Linked DNA regions of Homo sapiens: regions 1 and 3 are each linked to region 2. Evidence: promoter capture Hi-C in human tissues and cell types (Jung and others, 2019). All regions are on one chromosome and are shown on one strand. Each heading gives the region's core, a stretch centred on a gene start or on the middle of the fragment in contact. The rest is flanking DNA. Distances are from core to core; before and after follow the strand shown. Region 1 holds the start of MLLT11 (MLLT11 transcription factor 7 cofactor). Region 2 holds the start of ADAMTSL4-AS1 (ADAMTSL4 antisense RNA 1). Region 3 holds the start of BNIPL (BCL2 interacting protein like).

Region 1 (3,851 bases), core at 22-2,521, 490 kb after region 2:
ATCACACAGATTCCGTATCTGTCTCCCCCCACTACACAACTCTACCTAGAAGTTCTCTGCTGTTCTCAACCCTTAACCGGACTGGGACCTCTCTGGGAATCTTTCGGACCCTCTCCCTCCCACCTCCCCCAACATTCCAGTTCCTTCTTTTCCTTCTACTCTTCAGCGGCCTCAGCCTGCGCACCCCAGGAGCGTGGATGACTACGGCCACCCCGGGCGCGCACCCCTTTCCCACCACCCCAGCATCTCTGCAGCCCAGGACACCCGCCTCCCCCACACCCCGCATCCGGTGTGTCTCCGCCTGGCCCGGCCGGCGCGGCAGGCGGGCCAGGGGACCAACTGCACGGCCTCACCTGCTCTTCTCCACCATCCAGACGTTCAGCTACAGCTGGTGGGGGTGAGGGACTCTGCTCCGTGGCCGCCAGTGTGGGCTTCCCGGGCTAGCTCTGCGGCGAGGTGGGGGAGCCGAGTACGAGCCGGCAGAGGTGGGGCCGGCTGAGGGCGGAAGCGGCGGCGACGCGATTACGAAACCCGTCCGGCTCGGAGCCCGGCGCACTGCTCCCCTCTGGACTGCGGAGGCACTGCACTGCGCGGGACGTGGGAGGGTGCCTCTGCAGCCCCTCAAGGCCGCCGCCCCTGCGGGGAGAACTGGAGAATGCGGACACCTAGATGAGGCCCTGGCACCCAAGCTGGGGCCCCCGGAATCTCACGTTCCCTTTACTCGCCAGGCATTTCGGGGCAAAACGAAGCGGAGCCCCCCAAACCCCCAGACCTAACCAAGTTCAGAGATTCGCAGAAGCACGCCCCCCACCCCAAATTTATTGTGCTCTACCCAAAATGGAATAGGACTAGGTTTATTTACCCATTGTGAGGGTAGAGAGGCGAGTCTGGAGGAGCAGGGATTGGGAGAAGGGGTGGAAAAATACTCTGATTCTTAAAAATACTTTGTAACCTAAAGTCCTTAAATTGTGGAAGAAAGGAATACTCCTCCTTTCCATTGTAGTCTAGAGTTAAGATTTCAAATCCATAAATTAGAGGACCTAAAATTAGAGGGCAATTAACTGCTCATTCATTGGGCCCCCAGTCAGCACGGGGGTGCTGGAAGAGATCGGGAATAATAGCGCAGACCAATGAGCCTAGGGAGATGCTTTCATCGTCTCTCCTTCCCTCAAGTGTTCTGGAACCTATCATTTGAATTAGCCGAGTCAGGCAGGAGGGGGCGGGGAATCCTTCCGCCCTTCTTAGGAGGGGCTGCATTGCAGGGGGAGAGTGAACTGACAGACTCAGTCACTGAAGAGGGAAAAGGAGTGAGAAGACAAAGCCGTCAAAGCCCCAACAGCTTTGTATTTCTCCAGCCCGGCGCAGACCCCGGAGCTCCCGAGGCACTCCCTCCATCTTTGGAACACGCCAGTAATTGATTGATAACAGGTAAACCAAACTGAGGGAGGGGGCAGGGGGCTGCAAAGATAGAAGAGCGGCTGCTTATGGTTAGATTGAAAGACCCCACATGAGGTGGGGGACAGCTGAAGAGGAGAGAAGGGGGCGCTATGAACAATGGGTAGTTATTTCTTCACAGCATCCATGCCTTGTTACCTTATACAGACCATTAATCTCTAACAATTTACTTGTAGTTATTTCTCAGCACCTACCTCATTTCAAGTATCCTTTTCTGTAATTTATTGTCCTGTGTATTTAATATCTTCAGTCTACTTATCTTCCTTTTCAAACCATAATTTGTTTTACCAGCTGTTTAATTTTTAGTCCTACTGTATCTCTCTGTCCTCTACTTCCCTATACTTGCAATTTTTTTCTGTAGTGTTCTATGTTTCTCTGTAGGAGGGAGTTTGGGAGGGGGTTATATGGGATAATGTTGGGTGTAATCCTGACCTTTCTTTGGATAATCTCTTTCATTCCACCTCGAATCTTTGCTCCAAAGAAAGAGGCAGCCTAGGGTAGGAAAGGTGGGGGCCTCTGTGTTGGAGAACTGCCTGATTCCATAGTGAAATCAGTATAGCCCACAGGAGCTAGGTATGGGGACAGATTCTGGAAAAGAATGATTTGCAGCTCAGTGGAATTGGTGGAGGAATGCTAGTAGGAAAATCCAAGCTCTGACTGAGGCACACATTATGAGATGTCAGAGAGGTTCTGCTCCCCTCTACCACCACCACCACCTTGTCCTTCCCCCTTCCCCATGGTGGCAGCATGACACAGCAAGGCCCTGTTGAGTAGGCCTTGGATGCCCACAAAGGGTCTGGACAAAGGATATTTGGGCGTGTCTGTGTGGCTCCGAGAGTGTATCTTTCTAATCTATACATTTGCTAATCATGTATCTCTAAGAACAGAGTGATAATTAGATATTGCCTTTGCCTAAAATACCCGGATAATTTAAAGTGAAGGATAGTGGGAAGCATTTATTGAACATATATTGTGGTACAAGGCACTGTCAAAACCCTTTAAGTAAATGATACCATTTAAGATAATGAAAGATGTAAAGATAGATGAAGTAGGGCTGGAGAGCATTTGTGGAGGGGAAGGGGAAGCTAGCCAAAAAAGGATCTTTTGCGAAATTTGGAGTATTTGATAATTAAATCCATACTATATTAAATCAAAAATGTCATTACTACTTACATTAGTGAATAGCATTTTAACTTCAATTTTCTGTGTAGTATTACTTTATGTTCTTGACTTGATTTTAATGCCACGTATGTTTGCATGCATGTCTTTCTTGAATGTATTTGGTACCCTGTGTACATGTCTCTGGGTCAATGACATAGAGATTTTAGGCCTTTTGAGTTAATATTTCATAAAATTTGCTTTAGCTTTTTAAATTGCAAGATAGCTCTACCAAACACTCAGGGACTGTTTGAGCAGTTTTTTATACATACTCTGGTTGTAAGAAAAGGAGTCAGTTTGTCGAAGAGCTTTTTTTTTTTTCTCAGATTCTAGCTTGCTCTACTGCCCTTTGCTTTTCCCCATTCAGATCACAATTACAGGAACAATCACCTAAACCACGGAAAATCTATTCTTCAGCAACTAAAAATTCTTTTAAGTTTTGGGAATACTGGTATAGGGTTATATAAAGCTGTTGGCAACTATCCATGTACAACACAAAAAGGGATCAGATTGGGAATTATGAGATCTGGATTCTATACAAACTGGCTGGAAGTCTTCCCAAGTCATTAATTTCTAAGATGTCTTCTAGTTTTAAAATTCTATGATTTTTTCCCCCCATGATTCTATTTTTTTTTTTTTTTTAAGATGGAGTCTCGCTCTGTTGCCCAGGCTGGAGTGCAGTGGTGCAATCTTGGCTCACTGCAACCTCCACCTCCCCAGTTCAAGCGATTCTCCTGCCTCAGCCTCCCGAGTAGCTGGGATTATAGGCGCCTGCCACCACACCTGGCTAATTTTTGTATTTTTAGTAAAGACGGGGTTTCACTATCTTGGCCAGGCTGGTCTCGAATTCCTGACCTTGTGATCCACCTGCCTCGGCCTCCCAAAGTGCTGAGATTACAGGCGTGTGCCACCGCGCCTGGCCCCATGATTCTATTTTTTAAAGAGCCTATAATGTGGCCTGCATTATACTAAGCTCATTCTGGAGAAGACTTGTCAGGTAGGATAGAGAAAAGAACCCAGCTAGCTGTGAAAATAACTGGTAACAGTAAGAATCCCTGTAGCCACAAGTCCATAACAGTATTGACTCCTAGGTATGCTTCTTAGAATCTCTATAGTCCCAGATTTAAGCAGTGGGTGGTTGGTTAATGGATACAACCATTTTTTGTAGCTCTCTTTCTGCACACGTCTCTGCAAAGTACTATGGAGATTATCAGAGTTGAGTATCATAGGATGATGAC
Region 2 (3,550 bases), core at 545-3,044:
TCCCCAGCCCCCAACTTTCCACATACTTCACATAGATAACACTGTAACAACTTTGAAACTAAGAGGGAGAGAATTAAGTTTTCAAATTTGAAATTGAGAAGCCTTTGAAGAGTGGCAGCGTTCTAGAAAGTTCCATGATTGAACAAGTGAAGCAAAAAACTAGGATAGACTCAACTGACCATCTGAACTCCAGGAATTAATAGCCAGTGCTTTGGGCATCTGGCTGGAGCCATGGTACGCACCAGTTGTACAAGTTATTTCATTTTAATTTTGTAAAAAAAAAAAAAAAAATCCTTCGGCTGTCACAACTGTTTTAAATAAAAATTTTGTGAAAAAACAGTATGAAGACGTTGCTCTAGATACAGAACAGGAACTGAGAAAGTCTGGTTGTGTCAAATAAAGCAAAGTGTTGATAATTCTGACTACTGATTAAGGTTACCCAGTTACTATTAAATCCAAGCTTTTAAGGTGCTGAGCAAAGGAACACTGTACCAGAAACGGCTTCACATCATAGCACGTCAATGGGAGCAATAGCACTAACTTAACTCAGGCCAAGACTTGGGCTTGGGTCCTCTGTGGCTGCTACTCTCCTACCACACCTTTGCTTGGGAGTGCACTTACACAGCTTTCTTTGTAATGATACAAAAAGTTGCTGCCTTTTGGTAGTTAGGCTCCAGAAAGGGGCTTCCAAACCAAAATGCACTTTTAAATAGAAATGCAACTGACTGCAGGGAGGCACAGAATCCTGATTGCCTGATTAGCATATGGTGCTCAGGGCTTAAAACCAAGTATGCAAACCTCACATTTGCACATTTCCATGGTGATTCAGCTCACTTTCAAGGTAGCTGAAAATAAAAGCAGGATAGGGGTTTTTGAAATTGACTGGCTTCTTTTTACCTCCTTTTGGAAAGCAGAAGGGGAAAAGCACTGCTGCCAAGAACTTCATCAAAACTCTTTAACTTTAGGTATTATTTAGGTGTTATGATAGAGTAACTGCTGTACAGTACCCTCTTACCTCAAGATCAAGGCTGGGCGCAGTGGCTCAGGTCTGTAATCGCAGCACTTCGGCTGAGGCGAGTGGATCACTGAGGTCAGGACTTCAAGACCAGCCTGACCAACACGGCAAAACCCCGTCTCTACCAAAAATAGAAAAATTAGCCGGGCATGGTGGCGGGCACCTGTAATCCCAGCTACTCGGGAGGCTGAGGTTGCAGTGAGCCGAGATTGCCCCACTGCACTCTAGCCTGGGCAAAAGAGTGAGACTGTGCCTCAAAACAAAACAAAACAAAACATACCAACACCTGGTGATTCAAAAAAATCAAGACAGAGGCTGGGTGCGATGGCTCACGCCTGTAATCCTGGCACTCTGGGAGGCAGAGGTGGGCAGATCACCTGAGGTCGGGAGTTCAAGACCAGCCTGACCAACACGGAGAAACCCCATCTCTACTAAAAATACAAAATTATCTGGGTGTGGTGGCGCATGCCTGTATTCCCAGCTACTCAGGAGGCTGAGGCAGGAGAATCATTTGAACCTGGGAGGCGGAGGTTGCGGTGAGCGGAGATCGTGCCATTGCACTCCAGCCTGGACAACAAGAGCAAAACTCCATCTCAAAAAAAAAATAATAAATAAATAAATCAAGACAGAAATTTTGATTTTAAAGAGGTTTTTGATTTTACTTGGAGGTTTAAGAACTCCTCTAAGTACAGCAGTAATATATTTAATTAAAAACCCAACACCTCTAATTAGAATTGAAGAAAGGAACTGTCCTTTGCTCTAAGGCAAATCAACTTTGTGAGGCTTTTGCTTTGAATTCACCTGTACATATTTGCTCAGCTGACTTCTCTAAAAGGTTTGCCTAAGAGAGGGAAGGAAAAAGAGGCGTCGATGAGAAAAGACCCATATCACACCCTGTATTTGAATAAAAGATTTATTTTTTTTTCTCAGGAAAAACAGAAAGTTAGGGAAACACACTACATTTGACAACCAACATTAATTTGTAGTTGGTCCTAACCCTTCCTGGCACAGCTATCAAAAGTACAGCTGTTTAACCAGAACCAAGGTGTTCACCCCCCACAGAATGTACATGAAACACTAGAGGACTGCATGTTTTTCCCTGAGAGAAGCGTAAGACAAACAGAAGTCAAAAAGTAGTCACTGGGAGCGCCATCCTTCTAAGCAAATCCTCCCTTTCCCTTTTGGAGGATTTGCCCGAACTACGTAGCCAGTCAGCACTTAGACCACCTGCCTCCTCCTCCCCCTATAAACCCACCACTCCCCTCCTCCTTTCCCAAACCACTTGGGGTGTCCTAAGCCCTCACTGCCCCAAGCCCAAAATATCAACTAAGATCCTTGTCTGTATTTCCACAGTCATACCTAATGAATTGGGAAGTGGGGCCCCTAAAAACCAATTCACATCTATGCACTTGTTTCCACTGGATTTGGCAGACAGGCTTTTTTAGTTACCGTAACCAGATCTTAAGATTAATTAAAAACTACATAAAGTGCTTTTAGGTCCTTAGAGATACATGATATAAATAAGCGGCTTATGATCAAGAACGATAAATACATAGGTAAAAATAGCTCTAGCAAAGATGACCTTATGGCTCTGAGATGGGCAGGCAGGGCAGTTCTTCCCCATTACATTCTTAGTCATCTTATTCATACCTATTTTTAAATGGAGTCCACAGACTAAAGGTCATGTTCCGAGACTGAAGCTTTCAAATGACCCTAGTTCCAATATAGACACTTTCTTCAGTTTATCAGTAGCTTTTAAACTCTGAGGTTTAACACAGCTCACCTCTTTCTGTAAATTTAAGTGAGCATACTCCTATACAAAGGAAACTTTAGAGAAAGCCTCATAAAATGTTCTTTCCTCTGAAAATTCCTGAGGGGACTTTTGACACATTGCCCCCAAAGACAGGATAAAACAATAGTTGAAAAGATACCAGTCCAAGGAAAAGGGACTTCCTCCCACCTCTCAATGACTGTTAGTGTCACAGCACCCATGGTATTACCACCTGCTAACAGGATCAAGTTCGTGAAAGATGAAAGGTCTGTGGACTCTTGGTGGGGAGGGAGGGTCACTCAGGTTTCCAGCAGGGGTTTCACAGTGCCAAAATCTAAAAGGGCTAGAAAGAGTTCAGGGATGGCAGGGGAAAGCTGTAGGAATTGATATAAATATCTGTAGAGGGAGCAGAACAATCAGCAATTTCAAGGAAGGACAGGAAATAAAAGGTTAAGTCTGATAGAACAAACATCAAGACTGAAATCCAAAGATGCCAATGCAAAAACTTGCAACAAGGTTTGGGAATCATTAATAGAAACAAAACAGTAAGTATTTGCTTTATTGACATACTAGGCTTAGACCTGTGTGTGTAACAAGCAAGCCTAATAATAGCACCATGGTTAGACTAGCCTGCTTTTCCAAGCCATCATTTTATAATTTATTAAGCAAACAAGGGATCAAATGTCTCTCCATCCACCTGATGTGATCTTTTTATATGCACACAGCTAATGAGTTCCATTCAGCTGAAAATCTTTTAGTAAAAG
Region 3 (3,935 bases), core at 643-3,142, 460 kb after region 2:
GTGCGCTTTGGAAATTTATTCCAGTTTTCAGCCTACAGCAGATTATCAGCTCGGTGACTTTTCTTTCTGCCACCATTTAGGTGATGGTGTTTGATTCAGAGATGGCTGAATTTCTATTCTTAGCTTATTGTGACTGTTTCAGATCTAGTTTGGGAACAGATTAGAGGCCATTGTCTTCTGTCCTGATCAGGTGGCCTGGCTGTTTCTTTGGATCCCTCTGTCCCAGAGCCACCCAGAACCCTGACTCTTGAGAATCAAGAAAACACCCAGAAAGGCCTTAATGACCTCATAGGCACTCTTCCAAAAAGACAACAGAACTGGAATGAGAGGCCTGGGTCTGTCTCCTGCCTTAGCAGGCCTATCAATTTCTTGTCAATCTCTTTTTTTCCTTGCTCACATTAAAAGGAAGCATGGAGTTCTAATGCTCCCATAAACTATGTATTTTGGCAAGACACTTCACTACTCCAGGTCTCACTTTCCCCATCTGTAAAACAGGGTTTGGACTAGGTGTTCCCTGGTATTCTGTGATCTGCCTCTTGCTGCCATTCTTTCTCTCCTCTGCTTCTCTGTATTTTTCTTCTGTTATCCCTGGGGGTGCTCAGGTTCACTTGATTGTCTGTATTTCTGTGTGGTTGTAGCAAGGACTCAGCCTCATGTAGCACGAATAGGGGTGTGGTTCATGGCGTGTTGACCCAGCAGAGCACTCCCTCCCACTAACTTGTTCTGCATGTGTAGAGTCTCCCCATTTTTTTTAACGCAACCCTTTCCCCTTTTTCCTACCCCACAGCTCTGTTCCATGTAAGTTGCCAACAGTTTCACTGAACAGTGGGGTATGTGATGGTTTTGGCATGACATCTTCAGTATGAGGGGGACAGTTTGACTTCACTTTGAGGGTGTGATGTCTGTAGCTATGTGGAAGGTAAAAATAGTGGTGTGATCATGAACCAAAGGAATTTATGTTTTGTAACTTGGGTACTTTATTTTGCATTTTGTTATACTATTAAATAATTTTTTCCTGTTTGGGGGTCTTACTGTCTTTTTTTACAAGTGTATTCAGGCCTTTCTCTGTGATAGTTGTTTCAGTCTCCTCAAAATTGATCCCCCTTCTTCCTACTATACTTAATGTCTTCTTTCTGTTGACTCTTTTTGGGAATAAGGAGCAACAGGCTTCTGTCTCCCCTCATCCTCAGCCTCCCGTTCAACTTGTTTATTCTCCCAGAAACCTCCTTATAACATACTTCCGTTTCCCCAGTTTTCCTTATGCTTGAAAAGTAGATCCAAGATAACAGTCCTAGAAACACACACAATGGTTTCTTTTTCTTTTTTTTTTTTTTTTTGAGATGGAGTTTTGCTCTTTTTGCCCTGGCTGGAGTGCAATGGCACAATCTCAGCCCACTACAACCTCTGCCTCCCAGGTTCAAGCGATTCTCCTGCCTCAGCCTCCCAAGTAGCTGGGATTATAGGCATGTGTCACCACGCCCAGATAATTTTTTTTTTTTTTTTTTTTTTTTTTTTTTTTTGGATTTTTAGTAGAGATGGGGTTTCTCCACATTGGTCAGGCTGGTCTCAAACTCCCGACCTCAGGTGATCCGCCTGCCTTGGCCTCCCAAAGTGTTGGGATTACAGGTGTGAGCCACCACGCCCGGCCAGAAACACAACGGTTTCTACTGGTTTTTTTGCTTATTTGTGTAAAGAGCAACTTTGAGAGGGATATATGGAGTCTGGAAAGGAGAACAAATTGCCTTCCTAGACTCAACCGAGACTGGCCCCCACTAGAAAATGCACTCTCCTCCCCAAAACCCGCCCCCTCACAGGAGGCAGGGTTTTTCTTTTGGGCAAACCTGCTCCTGGGGAGAGGAGTGGCAAAACCTGTTTTGAAGATGAGGTTACCTCCCTTCCACACCTCCCTCCTTGGAGGCAAGAGCTACAACAGCTGAGACAGAAAAGAGGTAAGGAAGTGTTGGGGGCTGGGACAACCAGCTCCCCAACAACTCCTAGGTGTTTAAAGAAGGAGGCAGGAAGACTTGTGAAGATGGGAACTATACAAGAGGCAGGAAAAAAGACAGATGTTGGGTAAGTAAGATCTTGGCTCACTTGATTGGTAACAGTGAATAAACAGTCCGGAGAGACTTCCCCACCACCCAGCTCTTACTGGGTCAAATCTCGGGTTCCTCAAGGAGACAAGACTGTAAGAGAGTTTGCAGAGAAGAGATGAGGGTGGTTTTAGGTAGGAAATGTCAGTATGGTATGGAACTGGGGAACAGGATTCCAGGATAATTCCCTGGTTTAAAAATAAAGGAAGTTTCTGTAATATGTTGTACCTGATAAATCTGCCTGTGTTCTTTTATTTTCTAACCCTCACCCTCCAGAATGGCCATCAGGAAAGCTGAACCAGAACCGAGTTTAGGTCCAGGTTCTCGTTCTGGCAAATCTTTCTCCTTACCTTCTTCCTCCACCCCTCCACTTATGCCATGTTTTCCCTTAGCCACTCCCCAGCTCGGTGGAGGAAAGGCAGGCCTAACTAGGTACCGTCTTCCCGACTTTGCTCAATGATAGCTGGGTGGGTCTAGCTGGGTTCCAGCCACTTGTAATGTGGGACATCTCTCACCCCAACTTTGTAGGTGGAGCAACTGCTACAGAGGTAAATATGATTAACTTTACATTCCATCTTTCGTCTGCTCCCAAACTTAACAGCAGGTAATCTGCTTCTAGCAAGTGGTGAAGGTAAGAGAAGCATCTGTATAGGAGGCAAGAGATCTGAGTCCTTTTGAAGGCCTATCCTCTGCTCTGTATCTCAATTACTGTTCTTCATTTCAATTATTCTTACCTACTATTCAGTTCCCTTGATCTTTTCTTCTTGGGGGCTGTCTTAGGGTCAGGGAGATTGCAGAAGCACCAGAACTAGGAGCAGCCCTGAGACATGGGGAGTTGGAGCTGAAGGAGGAATGGCAGGATGAAGAATTCCCTAGGTGAGGACGTGTGAGGGTGGCTGGGAGAAGGGAGGGGTGGTCACGAATGGACGGAGGGGATGGCGCGGCGGCTCATGGCTGTAATCCCAGCACTTTGGGTGGCCGAGGCGGGTGGATCACCTGAGGTCAGGAGTTTGAGACCAGCCTGACCAACACGGTGAAATCCCGTCTCTACTAAAAATACAAAATTAGCCAGGTGTGGTGGCACATGCCTGTAATCCCAGCTACTCGGGAGGCTGAGGCAGGAGAATCACTTGAACCTGGGAGGCAGAGGTTGTAGTGAGCTGAGATTGTGCCATTACACCCGAGCTTGGGCAACAAGAGTGAAACTCTGTCTCAAAAAAAAAAAAAAAAAAAAAAAAAAAAAGCAAATGGACACAGGGATGGTGAATTAGGACTTGAAGGAAAAAAATGGGAAAAAGAAAACAGAGGCCGGGCGTGGTGGCTGATGCCTGTAATCCCAGCACTTTGGGAGGCCGAGGCAGGTGGATCACTTGAGCTCAGAAGTTCAAGACTACTCTGGGCAACATGGCATAACCCCATCTCTACAAAAATACAAAATTTAGCCAAGTGTGGTGGTGCACACCTGTAGGCCCAGCTACTCGGGAGGCTGAGGTGGGAGGACCGCTTGAACCCTGGAGGTAGAGGCTGCAGTGAGCTGTGATTGTGCCACTGCATTCCAGCCTGGGCAACAGAGTGAGACCCTGTCTCAAAAAAACAATTAAAAAAAAAAGCAGCATAGGTGATAAAATCATGGTGGGGAGAGAGAACCTATATATTGAGTCCTGGCTTGATGCCTTTGGTGTATATGTCTGCCGCCTTTTAATCTCTTCCCCTCTAGATTGCTTCCTGAGGAGGCTGGCACTTCTGAAGATCCTGAAGACCCTAAAGGAGATTCACAGGCAGGTAGGTCAAGTAGAAACCAGGCCTCAAGTTCTTGATTCTAGTCCAGTAAAGGGCTATGCC

Evidence for each region. Contacts are between HindIII fragments. The study calls those that stand out against the background at their distance.
Region 1: the fragment with the promoter of MLLT11 here is called in contact with a fragment that was not itself captured in region 2 in 1 of the 25 tissues and cell types used here (dorsolateral prefrontal cortex).
Region 3: the fragment with the promoter of BNIPL here is called in contact with a fragment that was not itself captured in region 2 in 2 of the 25 tissues and cell types used here (dorsolateral prefrontal cortex and hippocampus).

What each region holds. Positions count from the first base shown.
Region 1 is chr1:151,059,126-151,062,976 of GRCh38, forward strand. It overlaps MLLT11 (MLLT11 transcription factor 7 cofactor), which reads left to right and starts at 1,272. Exons shown (of 2, transcript NM_006818.4): 1 at 1,272-1,428. CDC42SE1 (CDC42 small effector 1) reads right to left here and starts at 497. Exons shown (of 5, transcript NM_020239.4): 1 at 354-497. RefSeq lists an enhancer at 818-1,409. The HindIII fragment of the contact is 8,370 bases long and covers 1-2,844 here.
Region 2 is chr1:150,572,644-150,576,193 of GRCh38, forward strand. It overlaps MCL1 (MCL1 apoptosis regulator, BCL2 family member), which reads right to left. Exons shown (of 3, transcript NM_021960.5): 3 at 1,915-3,550. ADAMTSL4-AS1 (ADAMTSL4 antisense RNA 1) reads right to left here and starts at 1,909. Exons shown (of 4, transcript NR_104133.1): 1 at 1,481-1,909; 2 at 1,016-1,178. The HindIII fragment of the contact is 4,214 bases long and covers 1-3,550 here.
Region 3 is chr1:151,034,694-151,038,628 of GRCh38, forward strand. BNIPL (BCL2 interacting protein like) reads left to right here and starts at 1,893. Exons shown (of 10, transcript NM_138278.4): 1 at 1,893-2,073; 2 at 2,874-2,969; 3 at 3,811-3,875. The coding sequence starts at 2,033. It overlaps PRUNE1 (prune exopolyphosphatase 1), which reads left to right. Exons shown (of 8, transcript NM_021222.3): 8 at 1-1,020. The HindIII fragment of the contact is 8,096 bases long and covers 1-2,768 here.